Linked DNA regions of Homo sapiens: all the other regions are linked to region 2. The links are contacts of gene promoters, found by promoter capture Hi-C in blood cells and fetal thymus (Javierre and others, 2016). All regions are on one chromosome and are shown on one strand. The core of a region is centred on a gene start or on the middle of the fragment in contact, and the rest is flanking DNA. Distances in the headings are between cores, read along the strand shown. Region 1 holds the start of SPATA21 (spermatogenesis associated 21). Region 2 holds the start of CLCNKB (chloride voltage-gated channel Kb). Region 3 holds the start of PLEKHM2 (pleckstrin homology and RUN domain containing M2). Region 4 holds the start of RSC1A1 (regulator of solute carriers 1). Region 5 holds the start of SLC25A34 (solute carrier family 25 member 34).

Region 1 (2,700 bases), core at 132-2,631, 390 kb before region 2:
GCTACTATGAGCATTGGTGTTCAAACACTTGTTCTAGTCCTGTTTTCCATTTTCTTGAGTGTATACATAGGAGTGAAACTGCTGAGTTATACAATAATGCTATGTTTAGTGGTTTTGTTTTGTTTTGTTTTGTTTGAAACAGCATCTCACTCTGTTGCCCAGGCTGGAAAGCACTGGCATGATCATGGCTCACTGCAGCCTCAACCTCCCAGGCTCAAGTGATCCTCCCAACTCAGCCTCCCAAGTAGCTGGGACTACAGGTGTGAACCACCATGTCCGGCCTTGCTCACCTTTTTGAGGAGCCTCCAAACTGTCTTCCACAGCAGCAGCACCATTTACGTTCACAAGGGTTTCAATTTCTTCACATTTTTGCAAATATTGGTTATTTTTCTTTTCTTTTCTTTTCTTTTTCTTTTCTTTTTTTTTTTTTTTTTAGACAGGGTCTCTCTCTTTCTTTCTCTCTCTGTCACCCCACACTGGAGTGCAATGGTGCGATCATCACTCACTGCAGCCTCAAATTCCCGGGCTCAAGGGATCCTCCTGCCTCAACCTTTTGAGTAGCTGGGCCTACAGGCACACACCACCCTACCCTGCTATTTTTCTTACTTTTTGTAGAGACGGGGGTCTTGCTATGTTGCCCAGGCTGGTCTTGAATTCCTGTCTTCAAGAGATCCTCCTGCCTCAGCCTTCCAAAGTGCTAGGATTATAGGCATGAGCCACCATACCTGGCCTTATTTTCCAATTTTTTTTTTTTTGAGACTAAGTCTCACTCTACCACCCAGGCTGGAAGACAGTGGCATGATCTCAGCTCACTGCAACTTCTGCCTCCCAGGTTCAAGTGATTCTCGTGCCTCAGCCTCCTAAGTAGCTGGGATTACAGGCATGCGCCACCATGCCTGGCTAATTTTTGTATTTTTAGTAGAGACGGGGTTTCACCATGTTGGCCAGGCTGGTCTATAACTCGACCTCAAGTGATCCACCCACCTCGGCCTCCCAAAGTGCTGGGATTACAGGTGTGAGCCACCGCACCCAGCCATTCAGAGCACTTTCAGTTCTGTTCAGTCTAACAAAGACAGGCATCGAGCACATACCCTATGCCAGGTGCTGAGTACTGGGGTCACTGGGATGTGGCCAATCCAGCTCCTACCATCCTGGAGCTCGCAGACTGGAGGAGACAGAGAGAAAAGCAGTCATTGGCAAAGCAGAATGAAAGGTACTGTAATGAAGCAAATTCACAGGGGCCTGTGGGAGCAAAGAGAAGAAACCCCACACAGTCTGGGGAGAGTCAGGGAAGGCTTTCTGGGAGAGAGTACCCTGGCCCAATAATCACTGTGAGGTTGGCAAGGCAACGATTGTTATCTTCATTGTGTAATGGGGGCCACTGAACCAGTGACAAGCTGGGGGAAATGACACTGTCCAGTAGTTGGAGGTCACACAGCCCCTTGCCTTATTCTCAAACCCTAACCACATGGCTGGATATTCCTGAAATGCATTCCTAAACCTCTGCTGCTGAGAATAATTGGACCTGCCATCTATTCCCAGTTTAACTGCCCTGTATACCAAACAAATCCAATTCAAGCCAACAGGCAAAGTATAGGCTCAGACAGAGCCCATCCTATGTGCAAGGCGGTGAGCAGGGGTGGAAAATCTCACTGTGACTCATCCAGCTGATTTCTGGTAGGTGCAGGGCCAAGGTGGGGTGTAAGGTGAACAAGCTTTCCCTGACGGCCTCCAGACATATATATGATATGCCACTTATCTTTATCTGCTGTATTTTCCTGCCATCATAGATATTTCCAAGAGAAATTCTCCCATTTTTCAGATGAGGAAACCACTTATAAAAGGGGCACTCAATACCCAAAGAATTTTGAAAAAGAACAAAGTTGGAGGACTCACACTTCCTGATTTCAAAACTTTTTATTTATTTATTTATTTATTTGTTTTTCCATAGGTTATTGGGGTACAGGTGGTATTTGGCTACATGACTAAGGTTTTTGTTTTTTGGTGTTTTTTTTTTGTTTACATTAGTAATTTTTTTTGAGACGGAGTCTTGCTCTGTTGCCCAGGCTGGCGTGTAGTGGTGCAGTCTCTGCTCACTGCAACCTCCATCTCCCAGGTTCAAGCGATTCTCCTGCCTCAGCCTCCCAAGTACCTAGGATTACAGGCAGGCACCACCATGCCCAGCTAATTTTTGTATTTTTAGTAGAAACAGGATTTCACCATGTTAGCCAGGGTGATCTCAAACTCCTGACCTCGAGTGATCTGCCCCCCTTGGCATCCCAAAGTTCTGGGATTACAGGCGTGAGCCACCTTGCCCTGCATGAGTAGGTTCTTTAGTGGTGATTTGTAAGATTTTGGTCCACCCATCACCTGAGCAGTATACACTGCACCCTATCTGTATTTTTTTTTTTTTTTTTTGAGACAGAGTCTCACCCTGTCATCTAGGCTGGAGTGCAATGGTGCGATCTCGGCTCACTGCAACCCTCCACCTGCCAGGTTCAAGCAATTCTCCTGCCTCAGCCTCCTGACTAGCTGGGATTACAGGCATGTGCCACCATGCCCGGCTAATTCTGTACTTTTAGTAGAGACGGGGTTTCTCCATGTTGGTCAGGCTGGTCTCAAACTCCCAACCTCAGGTGATCTGCCCGCCTCGGCCTCCCAAAGTGCTGGGATTACAGGCACGCACCACCACACTCAGCT
Region 2 (2,700 bases), core at 178-2,677:
CTTAGAGAGCACCAGGATCTAGCAGACTCCTGCGTGTCCCAGGACCTGTGGCGCCAGGTATCCTCTGGGTCCCCAGCAATGCTCCTGGCCCACTGGCTGCTAGCCCAGCCTGGGAGCTGGCCCTCACTGGCTGTGGGCACCAGCCCCTGGGGTTGCAGTCAGCCTCCTTCTGTGGTCCCTACTTGCTCTGCCCCGTAGCTGAGGGGACAGTCAGGTCTCAAAGTGAACAAAGCACATGGGGCTCCAAGGAAAGGTGCCAAGTGTAGGCTGCCCCAGCCCCTTGCTGTGGCCCCAGCTGTCCCAGCAGCTAACCCCCACGTCCCCTCATTGGCACAGGTAGGTGAGGGAGAGGCCTGGGTGGAAGATGGGCACAGTGACCAGGCCTTGGGCTGTATCTCCCGAAAGGCAGAGGGCAGATGCCCGGCCCATCTGACCCACAGACAGCTGGACAGACAGACCCCTTCCCTCCCTGCCACCCAGGAGACTTTGGGCAGTCATGTCCTGGACAAATGCCAGGAGGAGGGTGGTTCCTGGGCAGGGAGGTGGGGTGGGAGCTGGGCAGGAATGATGTCCTGAGTGGTCCTCCAGGGGGAAGGGAAGAGGACCTGGCTCTCACCTCGGATGCCTCGGCGGATGCGGGGACAGGGGCCCCACAGCTCCTGCAGAGTCACAGGGTTCCCTGAGGAGCCTTCACGCAGCCCCACAAACTCCTCCATCAGGCCCCTGGAGAAGCGGATAGAGGGAGGGACCGCGGTGAGCTGCTGCACGTCCTCGCACTGCCTCTAGGCCCTTCCAGTGCTCTCCCCACCCATGAAGAGGAAAGATTGTGCGTGTGTGTGTGTGTGTGTGTGTATGTGAAGTTATCACACTAGGTCTGTGTGTGCCTTCATCCCTGAGTTTCCGTCACTGAGGGTGTGTGCCTGTGTGTGTCATTGTGTGGGATGGGGGTGGGATTCCTAGGTGTCCCCCTGTGTCCAGCAGCAGACTGGGCACAGGCCGGAGCCCAAGCCCTGCTCAGAGCCCCTTCCCCTTCGGTGGCAGCCGCTCCCACCCTCCTGGGTCACTTGGCGCTTCCACTGCTGGGAGCAGTCTCTGCCCAGGGCTGTGACACTCTCACTGCAGAGTCCCATGGATGGCTCTGACTCTCCCTGTCCACCTATGAGCACCCCTGACCCCAGCTCAGGCCACAGAGGCAGCAAAACCCCAGGCCCAGAAGAAGATCCCACCAGGGCCAAAGTGAGGTGCTGGCTCCTGCCCTTACCACCCCCCCCCCCCCGCCCTGCCTGTCTGGCCCTGGCAGGCCCCAGCATCTTGCAGCGACCCCTCACCTGTCAGTCCTCCTGCTGTGGCTGAGCTGGCCCTCCTCTCACAGAGCCTCCAGCTCCCCTGCACCTGGACAGGTGTGTGTTCCAACAATCAACATCCTCCCCCCTTTCCCGCCTGGGCCCAGGGTTTATGGCGAACACTTAGAATGTCCTTGAAAACCGATCAGAACTGCCCAGGCCGGAGCAGAGCAGAGCAGAGCTGCCAACAGGGAGGGGAACAGGAGCCTCCCCACCCACCATAGCTGCACAGAGGGTGGTGCCCAGCTGTACTCAGGCTCCTGGGTGCTGCTGGACGGGGGCTGGGAAGGGGGAGCTCACGCACACAGCAGGACAGAGAGGGGTCATCTGCCAAGGCTGAGGCTCAGGGTCCAGGGGTCTCAGAGCTGGACATGGAAGGTTTGGAAAAGCACAGAGGGAGAGGGGAGGAGGCTGGGCAGAGAAGGAGAAAGCAGGCCGGCAAAGGTGAGTGGGGCCAGCATGACCACAGCCTCCCTGTGTGCCAGGTAGAGAGTCAGCCTTCCCCTAGATTAATTACCCTGAGTGCCCACGGAAATCCCACGAGGCAGGCAGCGTGATCCCGTTGTAGAGAAATGGTGTCTCAGGGAGGTGGGGCTGCCCGTCTAAGATCACGGAGGCCGAGGCAGCGCCAGGATTCCCAGCCCAGGTTTGCCTGGCTCCAAAGCCCGCAGGCTGTGCCACACGGTCCCATCCTGATGACCCATCTTGTCCAGGGCTGGCGAGGAGGCCGACACCTGGGGCAAGGCAGTGAATTGGGGTCAGGAACTCAGACTTGATCCTGTGTCCAGACCCTCCAGGCTCAGGAAATGCCTCTCAAAGCACACGTCCAAGGGCCAGCGGCTCTGGTGGGGACTTCTGGGTAATTCCACAGAGTTTGTCCCACCCCAACAGAGGATGGCAGCACAGGTGTGAGGGGACATGGCGAGGAACAAGCACGTGCCGTGTGCCTGCAACGTGTCAGAAGCGTCACATCCGCAGCTCAAGTCCTCCTCCCCACACCCTGTGAATGGGGAGAGCCTCGCCATTTTGTAGATGGTCAGAGAGGTGAGTCACTCATCCAAGGTCACACAGCAGAGGCTGAACCCAGCCCCACACTGTGCAGCTCTTCCCCTGCCCAAAGCTCCTCCAGCTCCTGAGGCTGAACCAGGGCAATGGTTTGGGCACAGAACAGAAGAGTTGTGTCTGATGCCACTTTGGGGCAAGATGTTGGGGGCAATTGCCTCCAGTCCTACCCAGACAAAGCCACTCTCTGAATAACATGATGGCCCTTGGATGATTGTTAAAATCTGGGACCCTGGGCCACCCTTTGCCCCTAGATGCCAGGCAAGTCAAATCAAAATTGAAGGTGTGTGTTGTG
Region 3 (2,700 bases), core at 48-2,547, 360 kb after region 2:
AGCTGCTGAGTCCCTCACCCAAGCCATTTTCTTTCTCTTTTTTCTTTCTTTCTTTCTTTTTTTTTTTTTTTTTTTCAGTTTCTGAGACTATCTGGTGAGCCAGGAATTCAAATTACACAAACACACACACAGAGAGGGAGAGAGAGAGAAAAATCCATTCTGATTTGGCCATTTAGGTTTTCAGTGAATATGGATTCTTTTAAATTTATTATTATTATTTTTATATCCAGCCCAAAAACGTCAGAATATGGATTCTACCTTCTAGCACGGACCCTTTTGCGGATATGCCAACTTCATCACAAATACATGCCCTTGACAGGTATGTACTCATTTCTACCTGGAATTGGGACAGTGATGTTTACTGCGGCAAGCCCCACAGCAAGGTGTCTGTGGTGTCACCCGGTTCCCCGGATCAGCATCCAAAATGCAATCCCCATGTACTTCAGGTTCTTATAATCAAAGCCCCTAGTGAACCTCTTCAAAGCTACCATCCTTGAGCAAGATTATTCAGGGGACTTCCCAGGAGCAGAGGCAATGTCGCCGGGACCCAGGCCATGGGAAAGTGAAGTTGCTTATCACTGGCCTCCACCCTGACTGCCAGACCCTGGGCGACGCCAGCCTGGCGGGGGGACCCGGGGATGCAGCGGATTCCACAGGAGGCTGCATGGGGTTCCTTCAGGAGCTCCCGGGGGCGCCGCTGCCCCAGTGGGGGACCGGAGGGTCGCTGACCCCTCTCCGGGAGGGCAGGGCCCCGGGCCAGGTTTGGGGAAGCTCCGAGGATGCTGACCTCAACTTTGTTCTTTAAAAATAGCTCCGAGGCCGCGGCGCTCACGTGAGCGGCGCCGCTTCCCCTCTACCGGCCCGGGGCTCCCGGCCGCTCGTCGCCCCCCGGGTCGCGGAGGGGAAGGGCGGGGGGCCCCGGCCCGGGAGAGCGCCGCCGGAGGGCGTGGGGGGCGCGGCGAGGAAGGGGCCCCGGCCGGGAGGGAGGCCGCGCTCACCTTCTTCACCGACAGCGAGATGTTCTCCAGGATCCGGTCCTTCACCTCCCCCGGCTCCATGGCGCTGCCACCGTCGCCGCCACCGCCACCGCCACCGCCGCCGCCGCCCCGCCGCCGCTTCCCGCGCCGGGGGCCGGGGGCCGCCGCCAACCGCTGCCGCCGGCCGTACGGGGGCTCCGTCGTGCCGGCCGCGGGGCCCGGCGCCCGCCGCCCGGCCCTCGCCTCGCCTGGGCCCTCGCTCCACCGCGGCCCGGAGGCTCCGGAGCGCGGCCGGCGGGGAAGGAGGCCGCGGGCTGTGCGCCGCGGCGGCGGCGGCGGCAGGAACTGATGTCAGGCGGGGCGGCGCCAGGGCCCGCCTGCGCCTGGGGACTCCGGGGACCCGGAGACCCGCACAGACCCTTGGCCGCGGCCCTCCCCAGAGACCCCGAGACCCGCCCCCAGCCCTCCTCAAGTCACAGACTCTCCCCGGCACCCCAGAGACACCCTCAGACCCCAGGGACGCCAGAGACCTCGACCCCGCCTGCCGGGGACCTCGGGGCTCCTCAGAGACCCTCCCCAAGCCCTCCTCAGCCCACAGATTCCTTCAGGGACCCCAGAGACACCCTCAGACCCCAGGGACTCCGGACACCCCGACCCCGCCTGCCAGAGACCCCCACAGACCCTGGGACCCCGGCCCTCCTCGGAGACCCTCCCCCAGGCCTCGTCAGCCCACAGATTCCCTCAGGGACCCCAGAGACACCCTCAGACCCCAGGAACTCCGGAGACCCCGACCCCGCCTGCCCGGGACACCGGCCCTCCTCAGAGACCCTGGAGACCCTCCCCCTCAGCCCTCAGGCCATAGACTCCCCCCTGGGACCTCAGAGACACCCTCAGACTCCAGGGACTCCGGAGACCCCAACCCCACCTGCTGGGGACCCCCACAGACCCTGGGCCCCCAGCCCTCCTCAGAGACCCCCAAAGACCCCGAGGCACTGGCCCTCCCCAGAGACCCTGAGACCCTCCCCACAGCCCTCCTCAGCCCACAGGATCCCCCCACAAAACCCCAGAGACTCCCACAGGCCCCAAGGACTCTGGAGACTCCGACCCCACAGGCCAGAGACCCCCACAGACCCTGAGACCCCGGCCCTCCTCAGAGACTCGAGACACCCACAGACCCTGGGCCCCCTCCCGCCGGCCCTCTTTAGTCCACAGACCCCTCCTTGGAGACCCCAGTGCACCCCACTAACTCTGGCCAGGGACCCCAAGACCCTCTTAGCCTGCAAGCCCCACTTATCTTCCTCCCCTTCCTTAGCCCAGCCACCCCCTCAATGTGCAGACCCAGGCCCCCTGGCTTTCGCAGCCTGGAGGACCCAGCACCCCCACCGGGTCAGCCTAGACTCCAGTCCCCAGCCCTAGACCCTCCCTGGGCCCCCTGGCCCTCCACAGCCTCCCCTCCTCAGTGCCTCACCCTCAAGGCCCAGTCCTACATTTGAGGTCCCTGGTGTTCCTCCCCACCCCCAAAACACACCCTCCTCACCTTCAGCCCCAATGCCCCATTCCCACTCCTTATCCTTATCCCTCTTCTTCAGCCCCACGTATCCCAAGGGCCTCAACTCCCTCAGCCCCTGAAACCCACCGTAACAACTCTCTTCCCACACACCCTCCTCAAATCCACCATCTCATAAAGCCCCTGCACTTAGAGGTGTCAGTCTCCTACCTGGCT
Region 4 (2,700 bases), core at 70-2,569, 380 kb after region 2:
CCCTCAGCTATGGTTTCTGATTGACAGATTACTTCTTCAGATGTATTTTCTGAAGCTGGTTTACTGCTAACAACCAAAAGTTCATGAAGTTCTTTCAAGGCTGCCGTTATAGACGGGCAAGATTCTTCTGCTGACTCCACAGAAGGCTGACAACTGCCACAGAGACTTGGAGAGGAGTAATGGCCATATTCTTTATTTGTTCCAGGTATTTCAACATTAGTTTCTGGGGGCTGTAAATCCTGAGTGGAAATGGAATCATTCAAAATTTCAGATGAAGGGTTACATTTTGATGTTTCTACTTCCATCAAGGGATTATCTAAAGTGAGATCCAATGCACCAATGTTCTTGACATTGGCATTCTGCCTGCCTGTTGAATTAAGCAAAGTAACTAGGGACTGTTGAGCTGTATCGATTTCCATAAATGTTTCTGAATTTGAGCAGCCACTGCATTCTGAAGATGGAATACTTTTCTTCGCACTTGGAGGATCCACATTCTGTGGGAGCCCATTTCCTTTCATCGTAGCTTCCAAATCAACAATTTTGTGTTGATTCTGTTGCCTTTCTTCAGGAAGCTCAAGGTCCCCTATGTTACAAAGATATTCTTGGTCATGTGAAGCTTTTTGTTGTGCAACCTCATACTGTTCATTCCCTGGTTCTTCGTGCTGCTGAGGGTCACTCACTTGACTCAGGTTCTGATTTTCTGGATGCCAATCCTTTTCACCTAGAAACATCTGTGGTTCATGCATCCTAGTAGATGTGACAGATAAACTAGCTTCCTGTCTTGTATGGAGATGAAATTTGAGGCCCTGGGTGCTTCTTTCAGCAGATTTCTCCAGATTACCTGCAACAGTTATTTCTTCGGATGAATTCTGCATAGGCATAGCTGGACTCTGGTCTGTTGGAGCATGGTCTGCTGAGGAAGCATGATCAGAAAGATCTTGTAAAGAAAGATGTTCTTTCTTTTCAGAGTTTAGCTGGAATTCAGCTGAAGCCTTCAAAGCCTTCACAGCTTTAGGTTCAATGCGATCTGAGTCACTGGGCTTGATAGGGCAGACTGAAGCAGAGACAGAGCGAGCAAGACTCATAGGATTACCAACATCAGGACTCTGTCCTGAAGAACGGGCGGGATGGTTAAACCCATCTGAAGTTGGTAATGATGACATTCCCAGTGAGGTAGATTCTTTACCACTTTTCTCTATATGGAACACAGGGGAAAGGAAAAAGATTAATTAGCAGGTGACTAATGCCACTAAATTACCAGAGGATACAAATCTAAACAGCGTAGAATAAAATAAGGTCCTCAAACTCGGGTTTCTCTTACACAAATAGAAATGATTTTAAAATTACTTTCTCATTGTGGTAGACATTCACAGCATCAGAATAAGAGGTAGACATGTTCTTAATAAAATCTGCATACTGTAATTCAATGTGATTAAGTATCCATTAATATGCATTCACATAATGGCGGGGTTAGTGCTCAGGAATGAAGGACATTTATGTTTCTTTATTCCCTAGTCTAGTCTACAACTCTAGAATAGTTTCTCCAAGTGTACTTTTTTCACCACTTGCCCTAAAACCACCAGGGACGCTTGTGAAGTATGCAGACCCTGGGGTACCATACTTGAGAGTAAATCCAGGAATGTGCATTTTCAATAAGCTCCTTGGGTGATTCTTAAGGATATTACAAATCCTGAGAATCTTTGCACCAGAATGATTCTCATGTTAATGCACTTTTCTTGTTTCAAATGTGAACACTGAGGTTACAAATGAGAAGTCTTAAACCAGGTATACCTGGACAGAGAGGGAATTATAAAGAGAAATAAGAAATAACATAATGCTTGGGGACAGAGAAGCAAATGTTCTATTTTATTTCTAGCCAAGCTTTCCAAAAATCATGGTAAAACTGGGTGAGCATCTGACTCAGAAAACAAAAGTAAACTAATGATCAGCAGATTAAATCACAATCATCATCCTACCAAATAATACAACTCTAAACTTAAAAGGCTTATAAGTTTTTATCACATCAATAGTGTGCAACTAAGTTAAGAATATTTAAATGTTTTAAAGAAAGGGGAATGTGGAGGGAGATGGTTCATTAATAGTTTTTCAACTGGCAATGACTATTTAGATTCACTGCTACCTTAGACCACCCAAACAAGACGGCTCAGTGTAAGCATCATAGTATCATTAAACATCATTTCCAGCTCTTCTTTTGCCACCAATCCAGTTAAAAATTGACCTCTACGCATGTAAGTGTAAGAATTTTTTTTTTTTTTTAAGACTGTGTTTTGCTCTTGTTGCCCAGACAGGAGTACAATGGCGCCATCTGAGCTCACCGCAACCTCCGCCTCCCGGGTCCAAGCGATTCTCCTGCCTCAGAGTAGCTGGGATTACATGCATGCGCCACACACCCGACTAATTTTGCATTTTTAGTAGAGATGAGGTTTCTCCACGTTGGTCAGGGTGGTCTCAAACTCTTGACCTCAGGTGATCCGCCCGCCTCAGCCTCCCAAAGTGCTTGGATTACAGGCAAGAGCCACCGCACCCGACCATTGTAAGATCTTTAATTAAAAATCAAAAAGGGCTGGGCACAGTGGCTCATGCCTGTAATCCCAGCACTTTGGGAGGCCGAGGCAGGTGGATCACCTGAGGTCAGGAGTTCGAGACCAGCCTGGCCAACGTGGTGAAACCTCATCTCTA
Region 5 (2,700 bases), core at 1-2,500, 310 kb after region 2:
AGCTCTGCCAACTGGGCTCAAGTGATTCTCCTGCCTCAGCCTCCCCGGTAGCTGGGATTACAGGCATGCATCACCACGCCCAGCTAATTTTTGTACTTTTTAGCAGAGACAGGGTTTCACCATGTTGACCATGCTGGTCTCAAACTCCTGACCTCAGGTGATCTGCCCGCCTCGGCCTCCCAAAGTGCTGGGATTACAGGCGTGAGCCACTGCACCCAGCCAAGGGTAGCTTTCTTCAAAACATTTTTTAATTTTTTATTTGTTTTGGGTGGCCCTGAGGCCCCCCTGCAGAGTGCACACGAGGCGGAGGCCCTCAAGGGTAGCTTTTATTCTTATCGTACATGAGGCCATGCGGGAAGAGAAGTAACCAAGCCAGGATTTGAGCCAGCACATCTGACACCCTCTGCCCCCTCCCCTGGCTCAGGACCAGTGGGGCAGGGACCGCAGGGGAGCATGGATCAGAGCAAGGCCCTGGGCCAAGGGGCAGATTCCAGGCTTGGGCTAGGATGTTCCAGGGAGCAGCCCCACCCCGGCTGCCCCACCCCACCCAGGTCCACTGAGCCCTGCCTTTGGAGGCTGCAGGGCCCCTGTGGGAGCTGGGTCATGGGATGGTGGAGGGTGGACGATGGAGACAAGCCACTCACCAGGTAAGCAGGGCTCCCCACGAAGGCTCCCAGTGCCCCCGCCACGGCTCCCGCAACCACGGTGCCACCTGGTTGCTGCGTGAGGCCAGCCTGGCACGCCAGGCTGTAGCAGTAGAAACGAACGCCATTCATGAGGCCTTGGTACAGAAGGCCGGCAGCCAGCCCCTTCTGCAGGCCCCACAGCCCGTCTGCTCGGGCCACAGCAGCGACAGAGGCTATGAAGCCATGGTAGGGCCGTGGGTAGGTGCCCCGGGCCTGCAGCTCCCCCTGCAGCTGCAGCCGCGTCTTCACCACCTCCAGGGGGTTGGTGAAGACACAGGCCAGGCAGCAGGCAGAAGCACCCAGCACCAGGTCCACTGCTGGGGGCACCGTCTCCATGGCCTCCGGGCCAGTGGCCTTCTGTGCCCGGGTCAGGGGCACGGCACAGGCCCTGTGGTGGTGGCGTTTAGGCTGTCTGTAACCTCGCAGGGCTACGGGGCTGGGGTTTGCAGGGGACCGAGGCCATGTCTAGAGGGTAAGGGTCCTGGTCTGACAGGCCTGTGGCTGCCTGGTGTCCCTGGTCTATCTCAGCAGTCCACCTGCTCTGCTCAGCTGTTCCAGCGGTCTGCCGGAGCCTGGGACGCGCCTCCGCCAGCTGCGACCAATCCCAGCTGCCTCTGTGCCCACACCTGCCAGCCGAGGGCGGGCCTGGACCCTGGGATCTGGGGGAAAGGTCACTTGGGACTGGAGGGAGAGCGTGGATAGGGAGAAGGTGCCAACCAGCCCAGGCACCTCCTCCTGGCCTCCCTCTGGCCCTGGGCAAAGGGCTGGCACCCCTGCCTTGCCTCTGGCTTAGCCTGTCCAGCTTTGGCAGAGCCCTAGGCAGGGGGCAAGTGACTGGGAGGTCCCTGGCATGGGGTACACGGCCAACTCCGCCCCTGCCCCACCCTGCCCCTGATATGCCCCTGGTGACTGACTTCCCCTTTCCAGGACTCAAGTCTTCAGTCTGGCTCCCACCGTCTATAGGCCCATGCTCAGCAGGGTCAGAAGTAGAGAAGGGCTCTGGAGCCCTGGGGAGCTGATTGGAATCCCAGGTGTGGCTCTCATGTGTGACCCCTGGGCAAGTCACTTCCTCTCAGAGCTTCAGTTTCTCTCATTTGTAAAATGGAGATACTGACATCCACTCCAGAAGGTTCTGTGGAGGACTGGCGATGAGAAGAGTGTGCCTAGGTCAGTGCTGCACCCGATAAAGGCACCCGCATCGCCTGCTCGCCCCCACCCCCACTGCCTCTGGCTCCTATGCCCCCCTCGCTGCTCCCAGGACTTCAGGGCACCTGGGTGAGTAGGACTTGAGGAGTGACCTTGGCTGGTAAGGACTTGCTGCCAGGCCTGCCCTGGGATGCCCTTTGTGCCCGCTGAGAAGAGAACGCCACCTGGGCCAGCTGTCAGGTGTGTCTGCTCAGGCTGGGGCCGGTACCAACATGCCCACCTTGGCCTCTGCCCCCAGACAGCTCTCTCCTGCCAGGCCACCCTCAGTCACCCAAGGCCCAGTCCAAACTAGAGGCAGAACCACCCAAGTTGGAGTCCCACACCCACCTCCCAGGGCCCACCCCTTCCCTCCCAGGCCCTTGAGGCAGCAATGCTGAGTGGCTTGAGGGCCTCAGGCTCCCGGCCTGGCAGGGTTGTCACCCTCTGGCCAGCCCTGGAGGGGACGGCGCAGCAAGAGGCAGCGAGGACAGCTTGGATTCTCCTGGGTTTGGGCACTCACCCCCGGGGCTGTGGAGGCAGGAGCGTCCTGCCCCGGGGTGGGCTGCAGATGGTGGGCGGCGGTGCAGACGTGCCCTGGGGCTTGAGCTGGTGGCTGCTCCTCCCCTGGCTGCTGCAGCAAACAGGAACAGGACGGAGGGCAAAGGTCGGGCCGAGAAACTCCCAGGGCCTGAGGGTCTGCAGACGGTGAGTCCGCCCGGCAGCGGTGGCTGATCTGGTTCTGCATGTCCCGTGTGTCCCTTGTGTCAGGCACAGGGCAGATGATGGAGGAAGGTTTGCAGAAAAGGGCCCAAGGGATTTGGAGAGCTCC

The links. Contacts are between HindIII fragments. The CHiCAGO score rates a contact against its expected background, and 5 or more counts as called.
Region 1: the fragment with the promoter of SPATA21 here is called in contact with the fragment with the promoter of CLCNKB in region 2 in 4 of 17 cell types (endothelial precursors, M1 macrophages, monocytes and 1 more); the score reaches 8.2 in endothelial precursors.
Region 3: a contact is called between the fragment with the promoter of PLEKHM2 here and the fragment with the promoter of CLCNKB in region 2, in 13 of 17 cell types (M0 macrophages, neutrophils, endothelial precursors and 10 more). The highest score is 10.6, in M0 macrophages.
Region 4: a contact is called between the fragment with the promoter of RSC1A1 here and the fragment with the promoter of CLCNKB in region 2, in 13 of 17 cell types (non-activated CD4 T cells, activated CD4 T cells, naive CD8 T cells and 10 more). The highest score is 10.2, in non-activated CD4 T cells.
Region 5: a contact is called between the fragment with the promoter of SLC25A34 here and the fragment with the promoter of CLCNKB in region 2, in 4 of 17 cell types (erythroblasts, naive CD8 T cells, neutrophils and 1 more). The highest score is 10.4, in erythroblasts.

What each region holds. Positions count from the first base shown.
Region 1 is chr1:16,436,105-16,438,804 of GRCh38, reverse strand. It overlaps SPATA21 (spermatogenesis associated 21), which reads left to right and starts at 1,381. Exons shown (of 13, transcript NM_198546.1): 1 at 1,381-1,677. RefSeq lists a silencer at 481-651. The HindIII fragment of the contact is 2,188 bases long and covers 1-1,717 here.
Region 2 is chr1:16,042,509-16,045,208 of GRCh38, reverse strand. CLCNKB (chloride voltage-gated channel Kb) reads right to left here and starts at 1,427. Exons shown (of 20, transcript NM_000085.5): 1 at 1,329-1,427; 2 at 617-723. The coding sequence starts at 716. The HindIII fragment of the contact is 13,884 bases long and covers 1-2,700 here.
Region 3 is chr1:15,682,917-15,685,616 of GRCh38, reverse strand. It overlaps PLEKHM2 (pleckstrin homology and RUN domain containing M2), which reads right to left and starts at 1,297. Exons shown (of 20, transcript NM_015164.4): 1 at 999-1,297. The coding sequence starts at 1,058. RefSeq lists an enhancer at 314-373 and silencers at 604-673, 1,194-1,273, 1,364-1,443. The HindIII fragment of the contact is 15,543 bases long and covers 1-2,700 here.
Region 4 is chr1:15,658,332-15,661,031 of GRCh38, reverse strand. RSC1A1 (regulator of solute carriers 1) reads right to left here and starts at 1,319. Exons shown (of 1, transcript NM_006511.3): 1 at 1-1,319. The coding sequence starts at 1,163. DDI2 (DDI proteasomal shuttling factor 2) reads right to left here. Exons shown (of 10, transcript NM_032341.5): 10 at 1-1,195. The HindIII fragment of the contact is 1,265 bases long and covers 619-1,883 here.
Region 5 is chr1:15,734,808-15,737,507 of GRCh38, reverse strand. SLC25A34 (solute carrier family 25 member 34) reads right to left here and starts at 1,250. Exons shown (of 5, transcript NM_207348.3): 1 at 645-1,250. The coding sequence starts at 1,022. RefSeq lists enhancers at 1,384-2,150, 2,151-2,700. The HindIII fragment of the contact is 4,526 bases long and covers 1-2,700 here.